Linked DNA regions of Homo sapiens: region 2 is linked to region 1. Evidence: promoter capture Hi-C in 16 types of primary human blood cells and fetal thymus (Javierre and others, 2016). All regions are on one chromosome and are shown on one strand. The core of a region is centred on a gene start or on the middle of the fragment in contact, and the rest is flanking DNA. Distances in the headings are between cores, read along the strand shown. Region 1 holds the start of LINC00619 (long intergenic non-protein coding RNA 619). Region 2 overlaps TMEM72-AS1 (TMEM72 antisense RNA 1).

Evidence for each region. Contacts are between HindIII fragments. The CHiCAGO score rates a contact against its expected background, and 5 or more counts as called.
Region 2: a fragment that was not itself captured here is called in contact with the fragment with the promoter of LINC00619 in region 1 in 2 of 17 cell types (endothelial precursors and fetal thymus); the score reaches 5.8 in endothelial precursors.

The regions. Positions count from the first base shown.
Region 1 is chr10:43,842,311-43,848,560 of GRCh38, reverse strand. LINC00619 (long intergenic non-protein coding RNA 619) reads right to left here and starts at 3,255. Exons shown (of 3, transcript NR_033923.1): 1 at 3,154-3,255; 2 at 2,959-3,028. RefSeq lists a cis regulatory region at 6,160 and an enhancer at 6,076-6,245. The HindIII fragment of the contact is 2,595 bases long and covers 2,531-5,125 here.
Region 2 is chr10:44,857,876-44,864,125 of GRCh38, reverse strand. The region is part of intron 2 of TMEM72-AS1 (TMEM72 antisense RNA 1); the gene reads left to right. Among named protein-coding and RNA genes, the nearest start is that of TMEM72, 50 kb to the left of the region's middle. The HindIII fragment of the contact is 1,946 bases long and covers 3,006-4,951 here.

The DNA of each region.
Region 1 (6,250 bases), core at 2,006-4,505:
TTAGTGAATGGATGGATGGGTGGGTGGGTGGATGGATGGATGGATTGATGGATGGATGGATGGATGGATTCACGAACCATAGGCACTTCTGTTTTAAAACTTAAAATCCGAATGACTGTCTGCTTAATATCTGTGTCCTAATAGAACATGAGTGCTGAAAGACAGAGGGTGTCCTACTGATTCCTGTCTACCTAATGCCTAAAGGTATGCCACCCAGCTTTCTGCTGACTTAATTTAATTCATTCTATGTTGCCCTAAACTCTTACTGCAATGATTCTCAAATTTACCTGTTCAGTACAGCCTCTGCTTTTCCTACTCTCTCCACTTTCCTTGTAGCAAATTAAAGATGGCCTCCTTTGTCATGTCTCCCATTGAGAAGTGGGCTCTGATTTCCTTCCCCTTGAATCTGGGCTGGTCCTGGGGATTTGCGTGGCCAATAGAATGTGGCGGAAGGGAACTACAGGACTTCTGAAGCCAGGTCATAAGGAGCCTTGCAGCTTCTGCATGGGTCTGTTGGCAGTCTCATTATTGGAATCCAGTTGCCATGATGTGAGGCACCCATGCCACATGAAGAGTCTATGTCTAAGTCTATGCATGAGTTCCAGCATCAACCTGCAGCCAGGCGAGCAAGCCATCCAGGGTGCCTAGGCCAGCTGAGCCTTCAGATGAATACAGCCCCAGTCAACATATGACTGTGACCACCCAGCCAACCACAGAACAATGGGAGATAATAAATTCTTATTAAACCACTAAGTTTCTGCATAGTTTTCTAGGCAGCAATAGCTGAAGAAATACTCTCTAATAAATACCAAAATAAAGATGTAATGAAGAATAGGCCAGTATACACAATAGAAGAGAAGGAACACTGGGAGCTAGGTGTTCTAGCCTTAACTCTGCTACCAGCTAGTTGTTTAGGATCACGTAACCTCTCTAGGTCTTTTGGGAGAGAGTATTTTAATTTAAGAGATGAGGCCAGTCATATGTAACCCTAAGTCTTTCACCCTATGTGTGCATTTTTATAATTTGCTTTTACCAAACTTTATTGTATAACTAAAGTAAATAATTTAATTCAGATTTAATTCAGATGTTCTCGTAGTATGAGTAAGGAAGTAAAAAATAAGTGCTACCAGCATCACAATTTTGCCTTGGGTTGGTCCAGTTTAAGAAGCAAAGAAAAAAGTGGGACACCAGAGAACAGAGCTGGAGGGCGTCTTCAAGAGTAAAGACTCCAGCCTGCTGTAGAGACCCAATCAAGAAAATGAGTTGCCAGTAATTAAAATGTGCCTGTTAGAAATAGGACGGTGACCCAGGGTCAATGACAGGAAGGGTTTGGGGGTTGCATTGTTTTGCTTTGTTTTGTTTTTCTTCTGAGTTTAAATGAAGGGTTTGATGATGTTGGCAAGTTGCTTGCTTCACAAGGAGAGGGTCAGAACTCAATGAGGGCTTCCAGCTCAGATATCATCTTTCCAGGATTTTGAGCTCTTCCCTTTGTTTCTAAAGCAGAAATGTGATCACATGGCTCCCCTGCTGAAAACTTTATCGTGCTCCTATTGTCTGCAGCAAAAGGAACAATTCGAATTTCTCCATCTGGCCCCTCCTGCTTCCTCACCACCCACCCACCCAGCCCCCACGCCCCCCACGCCCCCCACGCCCCGACACATTGAGCACCAGTCCTTACTGAGGTGTCTTGTCCTTCTCCCTCGGGATGCTCATCTCCCAGATGGAGAACCAGGTAAAGATATGCTTCTGTCTTACCCCTGGCCCACATCCTGTTGAAGTTCCCTGACTGCAGCTACAGCAACTTTGATTTTGGAAATGATTTGAGAGCAGCTTGCTGTAAAAGCGCTCTACTTTGGGCTGGCAGCTGGACTTTACCTTCACCATTTGCCATGCAGGTGAGCCTTGGACTTAGCTGGTTCTTGGTGTGCTTGCCACAGACTTGGTGACGCCCCATCCCTCCGCTGACAACCGGAAATTCTTCACTTCCTGCCTGGTGCTTCCCAGCGCGCCCTGCTGCCAGGAGAACGGCGGCAGGCAGGCGTCTTTTCAGGATGCCCTTCCAGCTGCCCGAGGGCCCCGCTCCTCCTCTGCCCTTAGCATCAGGGACACGTCCACTCCCTCCCAAGCCTCTGCAAATGCTCCCTGCTCTAGGAATGAGGTGGAGCAAACAGCACTTAGCACAAAGGCCAACCTTCCACAAGGAGTAGCTGTTTTTACATCATTTCCTCATCCACTTTTACAATTACATGAATAATTCTTAAATAAGTAATATATACACATGACAAAATCAAAGGCACAAGAGGTCAAATCAAAGGTCAAGAGGCACATCATTCAGTTTCTGACTCCACATCTGTTTTATCTGGCATGCTAGTGTGTGGCATGCATAGCACTCATTCCTGGGTTTTTTTAAATACTCAAATAAATTTTATTTTCTCTTTAGTTTGCCGAATAAATTCAGCACATCTTTCTTGGCATTGCAAATCACGTATTCCTGATGTGGACAGTCCCAGTTCTAAGAACTATGGAAGCTTATTATGTTTTTTTTTAAGCTGAAAATATTCTGATTTTTAAATGTCAAAAAACACAAATGTATAAAAGGTTTATGATGAAAGTCCCAGTCCTATCTTTAGCACTGGGTTGCCCAATTACCCAAGACCCTCCACTGGGAGGCAAATATAATTTTTAAAATATTTTTTAATATTTTGCTATTAATAAACTAAGATAGCCACCTGTAGCTGACCATGTCCTCCTTTTGCCACTGCAATGTCAAAATGCCCACTTCTGTTTTGGCACTAAGATAATACAGTTCTGATTTTCTGCATGAGTCTCCTCCGCCATACTGCAGGCACCTTGACCGCAGGGAACACTAAGGCATCAACAGATGTCTCTGGGACGATGTTGACAGAGCCGTTCCCCCACAGAACTTAATAATCAATGAGACCGATAAACTGCACATACCTGTGGAACTTTGGGGAGCCAAGGGTCAGAATCCACCATACCCACATCTCTTCTTCCACATCTCTTCTTCCTGTTTCCAGAGCAGCAACCAAGGCTCATACCAGCCTCTCACCCACTTCAGACACACCCCTTGCCCTCACCTGTGGGGCAGGTTTCCCAGGCTCTGGGGCCACTGCCCGTCTGGACAGGAAGTACCTGGAGGAGAGGTCCGGGGGTGGAATGCTTTGGCCAGAGGAGCAGGCTGGCTCCACGCTTGTCTGCTGGGGGCGGGATGATTCCTTTGGACTCATGGCATCTGGCCTCTCTGGCAGCAGATTCTCCCTTTTCTAAGCCTGCCCTACCCCCTCATGATTCTCTGGATTTCTCACGTTGCACCTGCCTCAGACCACAGGCCACTTAATGACCTCAGAGACTAAGTAACCACCATGCCAACTAAAATGTGACCTGCATGCCCCTCCCTTGGTTATGATTTAGGTTTTACACCACAATCCCTTCTAGTTATTTGGTTTCTTTTTTTGTTTTGTTTTTCCCATGCCTTTCAAATGTAAGCCTTGGGAGGAAGGAATTCTTGTCCCTTCTGTTCACTGTGATATTCTTCCGAACAGTGTTCACTGGATAGAAGGCCTTCAATAAATAGTACTCAAATAAATAAATGACTACATAAATTGTCAAGATACAATCTTCCAGGAACTGTACTAATGGCTGGAAAACAGAAGTGGGGGGAAAAGAAAAAGAGGCCTCACCCTCAGGGAACTAACAATCTTCTGGAGAAAAAAAAATGGGCTAATATGTATACATGTGGATATATAATTTAAAATTAAGGATGTTAGGAAGGATAATTCTGTTGTTTCTACCCCACAGGGCAAGGTTGTTAGTTTTTGTTTTGCTTTGTTTTGTCATGCTGTATTAACTGTGAAAGTGTATCCTCCACCTCCTGAGAATCAATCACTTCTTGGTATTCTCAATCACTCCACTATAATTATAATCCGGATTTTCAGAGTCAGAAATTCCTGTTTCTAGCCTTTGTTCTGATGTGGAGCAGGATCTCCCTGAGTTGCTTCACTGGAGACTACAAGCCTGCAGACACAGGGCCCCCTCCTCCTGTGGACACCCTTCAGCCTCACAGACTGGCAGCACTTGCAAACCCTCGAGAATGTCATCATCTACCCGCCTGGTACAGCAGCCTCTGTGAGAGGTGGGCCCCTTGGCTCCTTCCCTTCATGGAATTCTGTGAGTTTTTTATGACTAAAAAAGGAATTCACAAGTCCACCTCGCAATGGTGAGATGCAGATGGTTTTTGAACATAGAGCCCCAAGTCACCAACTTTTCATCATTATTGCCAGCCCAAACCTAAATCAACATTCAGTTGCTTTTATAAGAAGTAGGTGAAAGATCTTGAGGGAAAAAAGTCATGGAACACTTGAAGATTACACTGGATGAAGAGAATTATCTTTATTGAACCCAGATCTAAAAAGCAGGGCTCACTCAGGAAGAATTCCATCCACAGGCCAGCACATTTGCTCTGGAGTGGAGCACCCAGAACTGCACGATGTATGGAACTGACAGGTTCTGTCTTTCCACCTCTTTCTTTGGCAGGCCCGGATCTGTTTTTCATTGTCTTCGCCACATGTTTTCTCCTTGGTGTATGTTGCAATTTTTGACTTGTAGAGCATCAAAAAGAAACAAAGCAAACCTCCAAGAACAGCAGAATTTGGCCAGAGCCAAAAGCAACTCAGAATTTGAACTGAACTTGCTCAAAGCAGGGCAAGAAGACAGAGGCTTACGAAAATGCCTTTTGTTTGAACCAAAGACTGGAGCCAAAGAATCTGTGTCCAGAAGCTCTTGTGCATGGATGAGCCTCCGATCCCAACCTTCAAGAAGCCAGCTGGACAAGGAGAGGCTGGCAGCTGTGTCCCAGAGAGCTGAAGCCACAAACCCATCCCGCTTTGGCACTGAAGTTCGAGCCCCATGGAGCTTGGAGAGTTCTAACAGATTCCACCCCCACGGCAGTGGATCTATCCCCGGGTTTAGGGTGATGTGCATTCCAGGCACACTGTGTCCATTAACTCAGTGACACATTCTAATATTCTACTGATTGCATCAGCCCTTGTCTCAATTACCCAAAGATGCTGTGACTGTAGGACTCCAGATTTACATTATAGAAGCTTCCCCTACCACAGGCCCAGCCCCCAGCATCCAGCTTGAGACACATGTGACTCATGCCACAGAAGGCTTCTGTGTGTCTGGCCCCCACATCTTCCAGGGCTAGCCCCTGTCCTGACTTCTGACAGCACAGATCAATCCAGGAAGGACCACTCAGAACACAATCACCTTGTTATTATACGTGCAGTCAGTAAGTGAGCATGCTGTCCATCCTATCCCCCAACGTTTCATTCATATCTCCATTTAGAGGCAGTGGAGCTAAGAGACACAAGTCCCATTGCCAGGGTTTGATTCTGGCCCAGCCATTGCTTACCCCCATGAGGCTTCTGTTTCCTCATCTTTAAAATGAAGGCAAAAATGTCAGATTACCCCAAGGAGTAAATAAGATAACGTGTGGGACATATAACACGAACAGCTCCCCCAGCCCATAAGAAGCAGTCCAAGTCCCTTCCCCTTCCTCCTTCCTTCTTTCCTCCATTCATTCCTGCTGCTCTTCCTTTTTTTCTTACACTAATTCATTCTTTCTGTTCGTCTTCCTCAGCAGTGTCTCCTGGAAGAAGTTCTGGCCTTGGCAGCCACTGGCACAGCCACTTTCCATGAGGACGGGCCCTGGCAGCTCTGGGGCTCTTGCCCTCCCCGGTTCTCACACCATATGCAGGGAACCACTCACGGGGCAGCCCCAGAACCCAGTGGTGGCAAGGTCTGTGGCTCCCACCTGCCCTGTCCTGATCCTTCGCATGAGGCTGCTCTAGCTCCAGACTCCTCCCTCTCGATGCCCTGCCCAACCCCCGTGCTTCCTTCTGCAGCAAACGGCACCACCAGCTCCCACGTTCCCTGGCATTTCCGCCCCCAGCCTGGCCATCAATCCATTTCCTGATCCTTCCATGTTCCTTGCTTTTGGATTTCTAAAACATGCCCATTTCCACAGCCTTCATTCATTCCAACATTTTTCCTCTTGTATTACAATGGTCCCCTCATCACAGATGCTGTCTCTCCAATCTGGGTTCTCAAAAGTGCGTTTCTCAGGTCAGATCCAGCCCCTCCTACTCCTCCAGCCCCATTGCCCATCCCCTGACCCCCCAGGGAGCCCCCGAGTGCACCATCTCCCTCCTACCTGGCGCCTCAGCTC
Region 2 (6,250 bases), core at 2,729-5,228, 1.0 Mb before region 1:
AGACAGCCTAGCTCATCTGCTCTCTTAAAATGAATCAATCATCCACCAGGCGTTGTGTGAGGACTGCATATGTGCCAGCAGGACTTCAAAAAATGTCCTGTTTACTAGGGAGAGAAACAAGAAAACCAATAAATGCAGTATAGCATCAGACATTCTGAGAGAAAGAAATGTATATGGAACTGAGGTTGCTGAAAGGGAGACCACACTTTCCCTAGCCCGGGGAGGCTAAGAAATGCAGTCAAGAGGAGGATGTTCCCAGAACGTGAGGCACAGGGAGGAGAATGAAGTGGGTGTGGGAAAGGGGCGTTCCCGCGTCCTAGGGAAATAGGTGCAAAGACACAGGCAAGTTAGAAAGCCTGTCACTTTGGGGGCAGCCTTTCTTTCCTTTTTAAGCAACTCAGGATTTTTACGTTGGTTGAAGTTACTTGATGATTTCAAATCAGTGCTGACGTTATGCTTAAAAGAAATAAAAGGTCAAAGAAAGAGTATGGTAGGAGTAATTCAGGTGGTTACTTTGAACAGTTTCTATAGACAAGAACTCCGCAGCCACTTTGACGCACACCGCAAGCCCCAGCTACGCTCAGGTGCAGGCAGCGCAGAGTCCTCCGCCAGGGGAGCCACCTGGTGGGGGCCAACCGCAAACCGTGTGTGGTGTGGAAAAGCTCCAATTCCTTTGCTCTCCAGCCTAACTCATACTCACTGGATAGGGTATAAAAAGGTCTGTAAAAGACCTTCACAAACTAAAATCTGGTTATAGCTGCAATCTGGCTTGGCAATTCATGGATCGCTGGCTCCCCGTCCCTCTGCACTCACAATGACTGCAGGGTGGGACAGTTTCTCTGCTTTTTGAAAAAGGAAATCTGCTTTCCTAGATCTTGATGGAATATACAAAAATGGTTTAGTGCCATAAGCTCCTTCTCTAAGCAGGCAGCTCAGGGAGCTGATGCCAATTGGTTACTCTTGTAGAAATTTCGTGAACTACAGTAAACCATTCGCTAAGCCTTTCTGACATCTGGAGCAGCCTCCTTCCTGCCACTGCCTTTTCTCTTGGCAGGAACACAGACCCTAGAGGGACAAAGGGTGGCAGAAGTCACCAGAAGCTGTAACATACTGCAGCTGCACGGAGACCTGTGCCTGTTCATACTCCTCAACTCTCGGCTCCTGGTGGGCTTGTCTTTGTACCCCATGGAGCCCACCCAGCTTTCAGCCAGTGCCAATGTGCATTTTAAATCAAACTTTAATGGATTTAAGATGCATATATTCTCTTTCTCTATACTCATGGCATCAGGATCTCAAAGACTACTCAATAATTTTTCATTTACTCATTCATTTATGCAAAAAGTATTTTTAGACCCTGTGCTGGGTACAATAGTGTACAAAGCCAGATAGAATTGCTGTGTTCATAGGGCTTGGCATCAAGCAGGAAGATCAATACACAGGGTGCAAGGGACATGAAGCCCGGTCACAAAAGCCTTCCTGGAGAAATGGGCGCCCAGCTTGAAGGCAGGAAGGCAGGGCCTTGGCCAGAGGCAGGGGGAGTCTGGAGTGAGTAGAGATCTGCAGGGGTTGTGTGTGGAGGAGCCAGGCCAGCCTTGAGAGCCTGTGGTGCTCTTGAGCCTGTCAGCTGTAGCTGGGGCTGGGAGGCTTTGGTCAGGGTTCGTGGGAAAGCAGAAGTGCTCCAGCTATTTCAAGTAGAGAGAGATTTAATATGGAGAGCCAGGGCCTTCTCAACCATGGGAGGGAGTTGGGGAGCAGAGATCAGGAAGACTGCCTCACGACATCGAGAACAGAAATGGAAAGGAAGTCATCACCGGCAACCCCAGCAGCCTGCAGTGCCCAAGCAGGTTGCTCTCAGGGGAACACCTGGAACTCCGAGAGCTGTGTGCTCCTGGAGGCCAGCCACCTGCAGTGCCCGTGGGGGCTTCTTAGAGGAAGCCCTGGGAGGCCAGAGAGAGAGTGCTGCTGATGGCTGTGGCTGCAGGACGGAGAAAGACACTCCCTCTGACACCCTAGAATGTGAGCTACGCACGGGCTGAATCTAATCTGGCCTCCGGCAGGGACAGTGATTCTGTGGCTTCAGACATGTCCCTGAGAAGCAGAGGATGGTGTAGCAGGCACCAGAAAATGCTGATGATGACGATGATCCAGCAAAATAGTTGGTGGAGAAGGAGCTGGGCTCCTGTCTTGCCTCTGCCACTTACTGGCTGTGTGCCTGTTTCTAGGCCTCAGTTTCCTCCTCTGTAAAGTGGGGATGACAGTACTACCTGCTTCATGCAGATTATGAAACATTAGACAAGATAATGAGTAAAGTTTTTAGCATACTACTTTGCATGTAGGTTTTGGTGGTTTCTGGTTATTATTCATAGTGATTTTTTCAGTAATTATATATTGAAAAGAAAGCTGAAAACCATTAAAGGATGTTAAAAACACCATGGAAATGTGCTTATCTTTTTAAAAAGTTGCAGTAGCTTTGGGAAGTCACCAGGAATGGCAGCCACGTGGCTCCAAACTGACTGCTGTGTGGCAGGGACCGCCAGGGTGGGGCTGGGTCCAGCTCAGAGTCATCCTGCTGAGCTTTCAGCCCCCAGATCCTTATCAAGTCATTGTGAATCTCAGCGCATTCCAATGGGCCATGTTCATGATGCCTGTGGAGGGGTGGGGTGGTTCCCTCCACTTTGGCCCAAGGAGAGTTTGCCTTTCCCAGGACTCTGGCCAGTAGAGTTCAAGTGGTGTAATTTTCTTCATCTCTTAACTGTTTCCAGGAGTTTGCAGAGCCTTCTCCTTCCTGGCTTCCTTCTCTGCCTTGGGGGTGCCTGTGGCCACAGGAGCCCTGAGCAGGGTTTGCACTCCCAGTCTGGGGATGAACAGGAGGACCTGTCTGATGGGAGCAGCTGCCAAGCAAGGGTGGGGATGGGAGAGAACCCCCAAACAGAGCAGGCGTGGCGTCCGGGTGGGCCAGATGAGCAGGGGTCCAAGGTCAGGGTTCACAGGCTCAACAAGAAGCTTCCTCTTGGAAACCTAAAAAAGGAATCAGGACCGAGGGACATAACCACAGAGACACCAAAGGCCCAGACAACAGGCTCAGGCGGGAGCGTAGCTACTTGTGGTCATAAAGCTCTGAATGCTGCTTTAGTCTCCAGGCCCCAGGGCCTGAGCCTTCAGGACCAAGATCTGGAGCTCCTGCCCTGCTATACCAAAGGTGCTGCTGTAAACACTGTTCTGGTTCTAACTGTTTAATCCCACGCCAACTCTAGGAGGCAGGTGCTATTTAATATCATCTCCAGTTACCAAGGAAGAAACTGAGATTCAGAAAGAGAAAGGCACCTGCCCAAGGTCGCACAGCTTGTGAGCTACAAGGCTGGGACCTGGGCAGCCTGGCTCTGGGGGAAGCGTCAGGCACCAGGGTCCCTGCAGGGGCCTCTGTGCACTTTCTCATTCACATGGCCTGAAGCTCATCCTGAGGTCAGCTGGGAGACTGTGCAGCCCTCTTCAAAGGCCCATCTACAGAATTTGTGAGTCTTTGAACCATTTATTGATTGTAGAAGACAATCAGCCCAGAGAGACGTGAGATGGTTCTGTAGGAAACACTATGATAGGACAGTCAGCAGGAGCCTAGTACAGCACTGAGTATGTGTGTGTGTGTGTGTGTGTGTGTGTGTTTGTGTGTACACTCAGAAAAAAGCAAGTTCCTACTGTGGCAAAGAATAGAGGGTAAAAATGCAAACATGCGAGTACCCCTCTGACACAATGAGTTCTTTCTATCATTCATTTTTTTCTTTACCATTTTAGTGGAGGCAACATTGCCCCAAGGGAATAAACGGACATTAAATCTCTGTGTTTTGGGATTTTCCTGGCATTTTTAAATCAGGAAAGTACTATTTACAGCTACATGCTCACACACACACACACACCCTGCACACACACACACACACATACACACACACACACGGGGAGGGTCACAGCAGACAATGGCACCTGGCCCAGCGGGGTCCCCTGGATGGGAAGGCAAGTGCAGTGTGTCAATCACTTAGAGGGGCAAAGGCGGGCTAGAGGGAAAGCCCCCAATTCCTGAAGATGGTGGGGCTGGACAGGAGAGACCTTCATCCCTGTCACTTTCCTCTAAGCTCCATACCAAGTGGAAGTCACGAAGGTTAGGGTCTTGTTGCTCACCCATAAAACGAAGTATGGTGATGACAGTGATGGGACTAAGTCACACTCATGTTAAGTTGTCCAGTACCTGCGACACAGACACTGCAAGAACAGTCCCTCTAGGTGTTAGAGACAGCAGCCTCTGTCCCAAGGCATCTGTGAGAGTTGGAAGTGGTGCTTGGTAGATGGCATTGTGTGGATGGGTACTGGGGGGAGTCACATCTGCGGGTTGGTCCCTGTGCAGCACACAGAGAACGATGTCTGCGTGGACCTCACTTGATGGCTGTGACAGCCTCAGCTCACTTGGCTTCCCACACAGGAGACCTGCAAGGCCACTCACAAAAGGCGATTGATTTAGTGGCTCAGGGCGCTGGGATGGAAGGGCCTGGGGAGTCCTTCAGTGACGACCCTTCTCTCTGCGTGGCCTCAGGCCCCAGCCTCCCCACTTCTCCCAGTTCTAGCAACTGACACTCATCTCTTCTCCCCAACCCTCTTTTCTCTTTCTAATCTGTGAAAGAAAAAGTAGTCCCCACTTCCCTGGGGCTTTACCTTTAGAATTCCAAATTGTTTTACCACAACTTGGCTCTGGTAAATTCCAAGTTTTGACTTTTCTCTCTGTTGTTTAATATTTGAATTTCAAGACCCAGCTTGGAAGTTGAAGAACTGAATATTGAGGATTTTATTCCCTTGTGTTCCTGCTACATAACTCCTGATTCTCCTTCTTGCAGAACAGGCTAGAGGGTGAGTCACTGTCTCAGTCAGCTTGAGTTGCTGTAACAAATACACCCTAGGCTGGGAAGCTTAAACAGCAGACATTTACTTCTCAGAGTTCTGGAGCTGGGAAGTCCAGGATCAAGGCACTGGGAGATGTGGTATGTAGGGGGCCCTTTTCAGGTTTGGGATGGCACCTTGCTGTGGTCTCACATAAGGGAGAGCAGGGAGGTAGGGAGCAAGCTAGCTCAGGTCTCTCTCTCTCTTTTTTTTTTTTTTTTTTTTTTTTGAGACAAGAATCTTGCTCTGTCACCCAGGCTGGAATGCAGTGGTGTGATCTTGGTTCACTGCAACCTCTGCCTCCTGGGTTCAAGTGATTCTTCTGCTTCAGCCTCCCGACTAGCTGGGACTACAGGCTTGTGCCACCACGCCCGGCTAATTTTTGTATATTTAGTAGAGATGTGGTTTCACCATGTTAGCCAGGATGGTCTTGATCTCCTGACCTCCTGATCCACCTGCCTTGGCCCCACAAAGTGCTGGGATTACAGGCGTGAGCCACCACACCTGGCCCTCAGGTCTCTTATAGGAGCACTAATCCCATCATGAGAGCTCCAGGCACATGACCTCATCACCTCCTGGAGTCCTCACCTCCAAATACCATCACATCGTGGTTAGGCTTCAACATGCCTACTCCAGGAGGATGCAAACATTCAGCCCATAGCAGTCATGTACCTGAGGTTGTGATGAAATAAATACACAAAATAACATTTCTATCTATCACCATCCTCCTCCTTTTTGACTGTTAGCTGGGCTGGCCAGCACCTCGAGGATGGTGGGTTTGCTGGCATCTTCCGGCAGACAATGGGGGCCCTGATGATGGGCTAAGAGACCCAGTGGCCCTCACTCTGTCTCTTAAGCCCTTGACCCTGTGGCCTTTAGTGAAGCTCAGTGCAGTTATCAGGACCCCATGACTCATTTGCTCTCCAATTCTTCCTAAGGATGTTTACAGACCAACTTACACCAGCAATAGCTTTTAAAAACCCTCATGAAGAATTCCCACAGTCTACCCATAACCTCTGCCGCAGAGTTCGTAATGTCCCAGACCCCCGTCCTCAGCCATGCAATCACTAGCGTCTTTATATGTAAAGAGAAGATAGTAAAACCTTGCCCTGCTGAATTCATGGGATTCTTTTAAGAGCCCAGCAGTGGTAGATGGGAAGTTCTTTGTAAACGGAACCATGCTGGGACCACTTGCCCTTTTATTCAGGGTCCTGACTTTTCCTTCCTGGCCCTGCGGTCCCCCTGCAGTGCACTCTCCTGACCCTAGGTGGCAGCAGCACCTCGGCTCCCCTCAAGGGAGGCCTGCTGCGGATGGAGGCTAAGGTCAGGA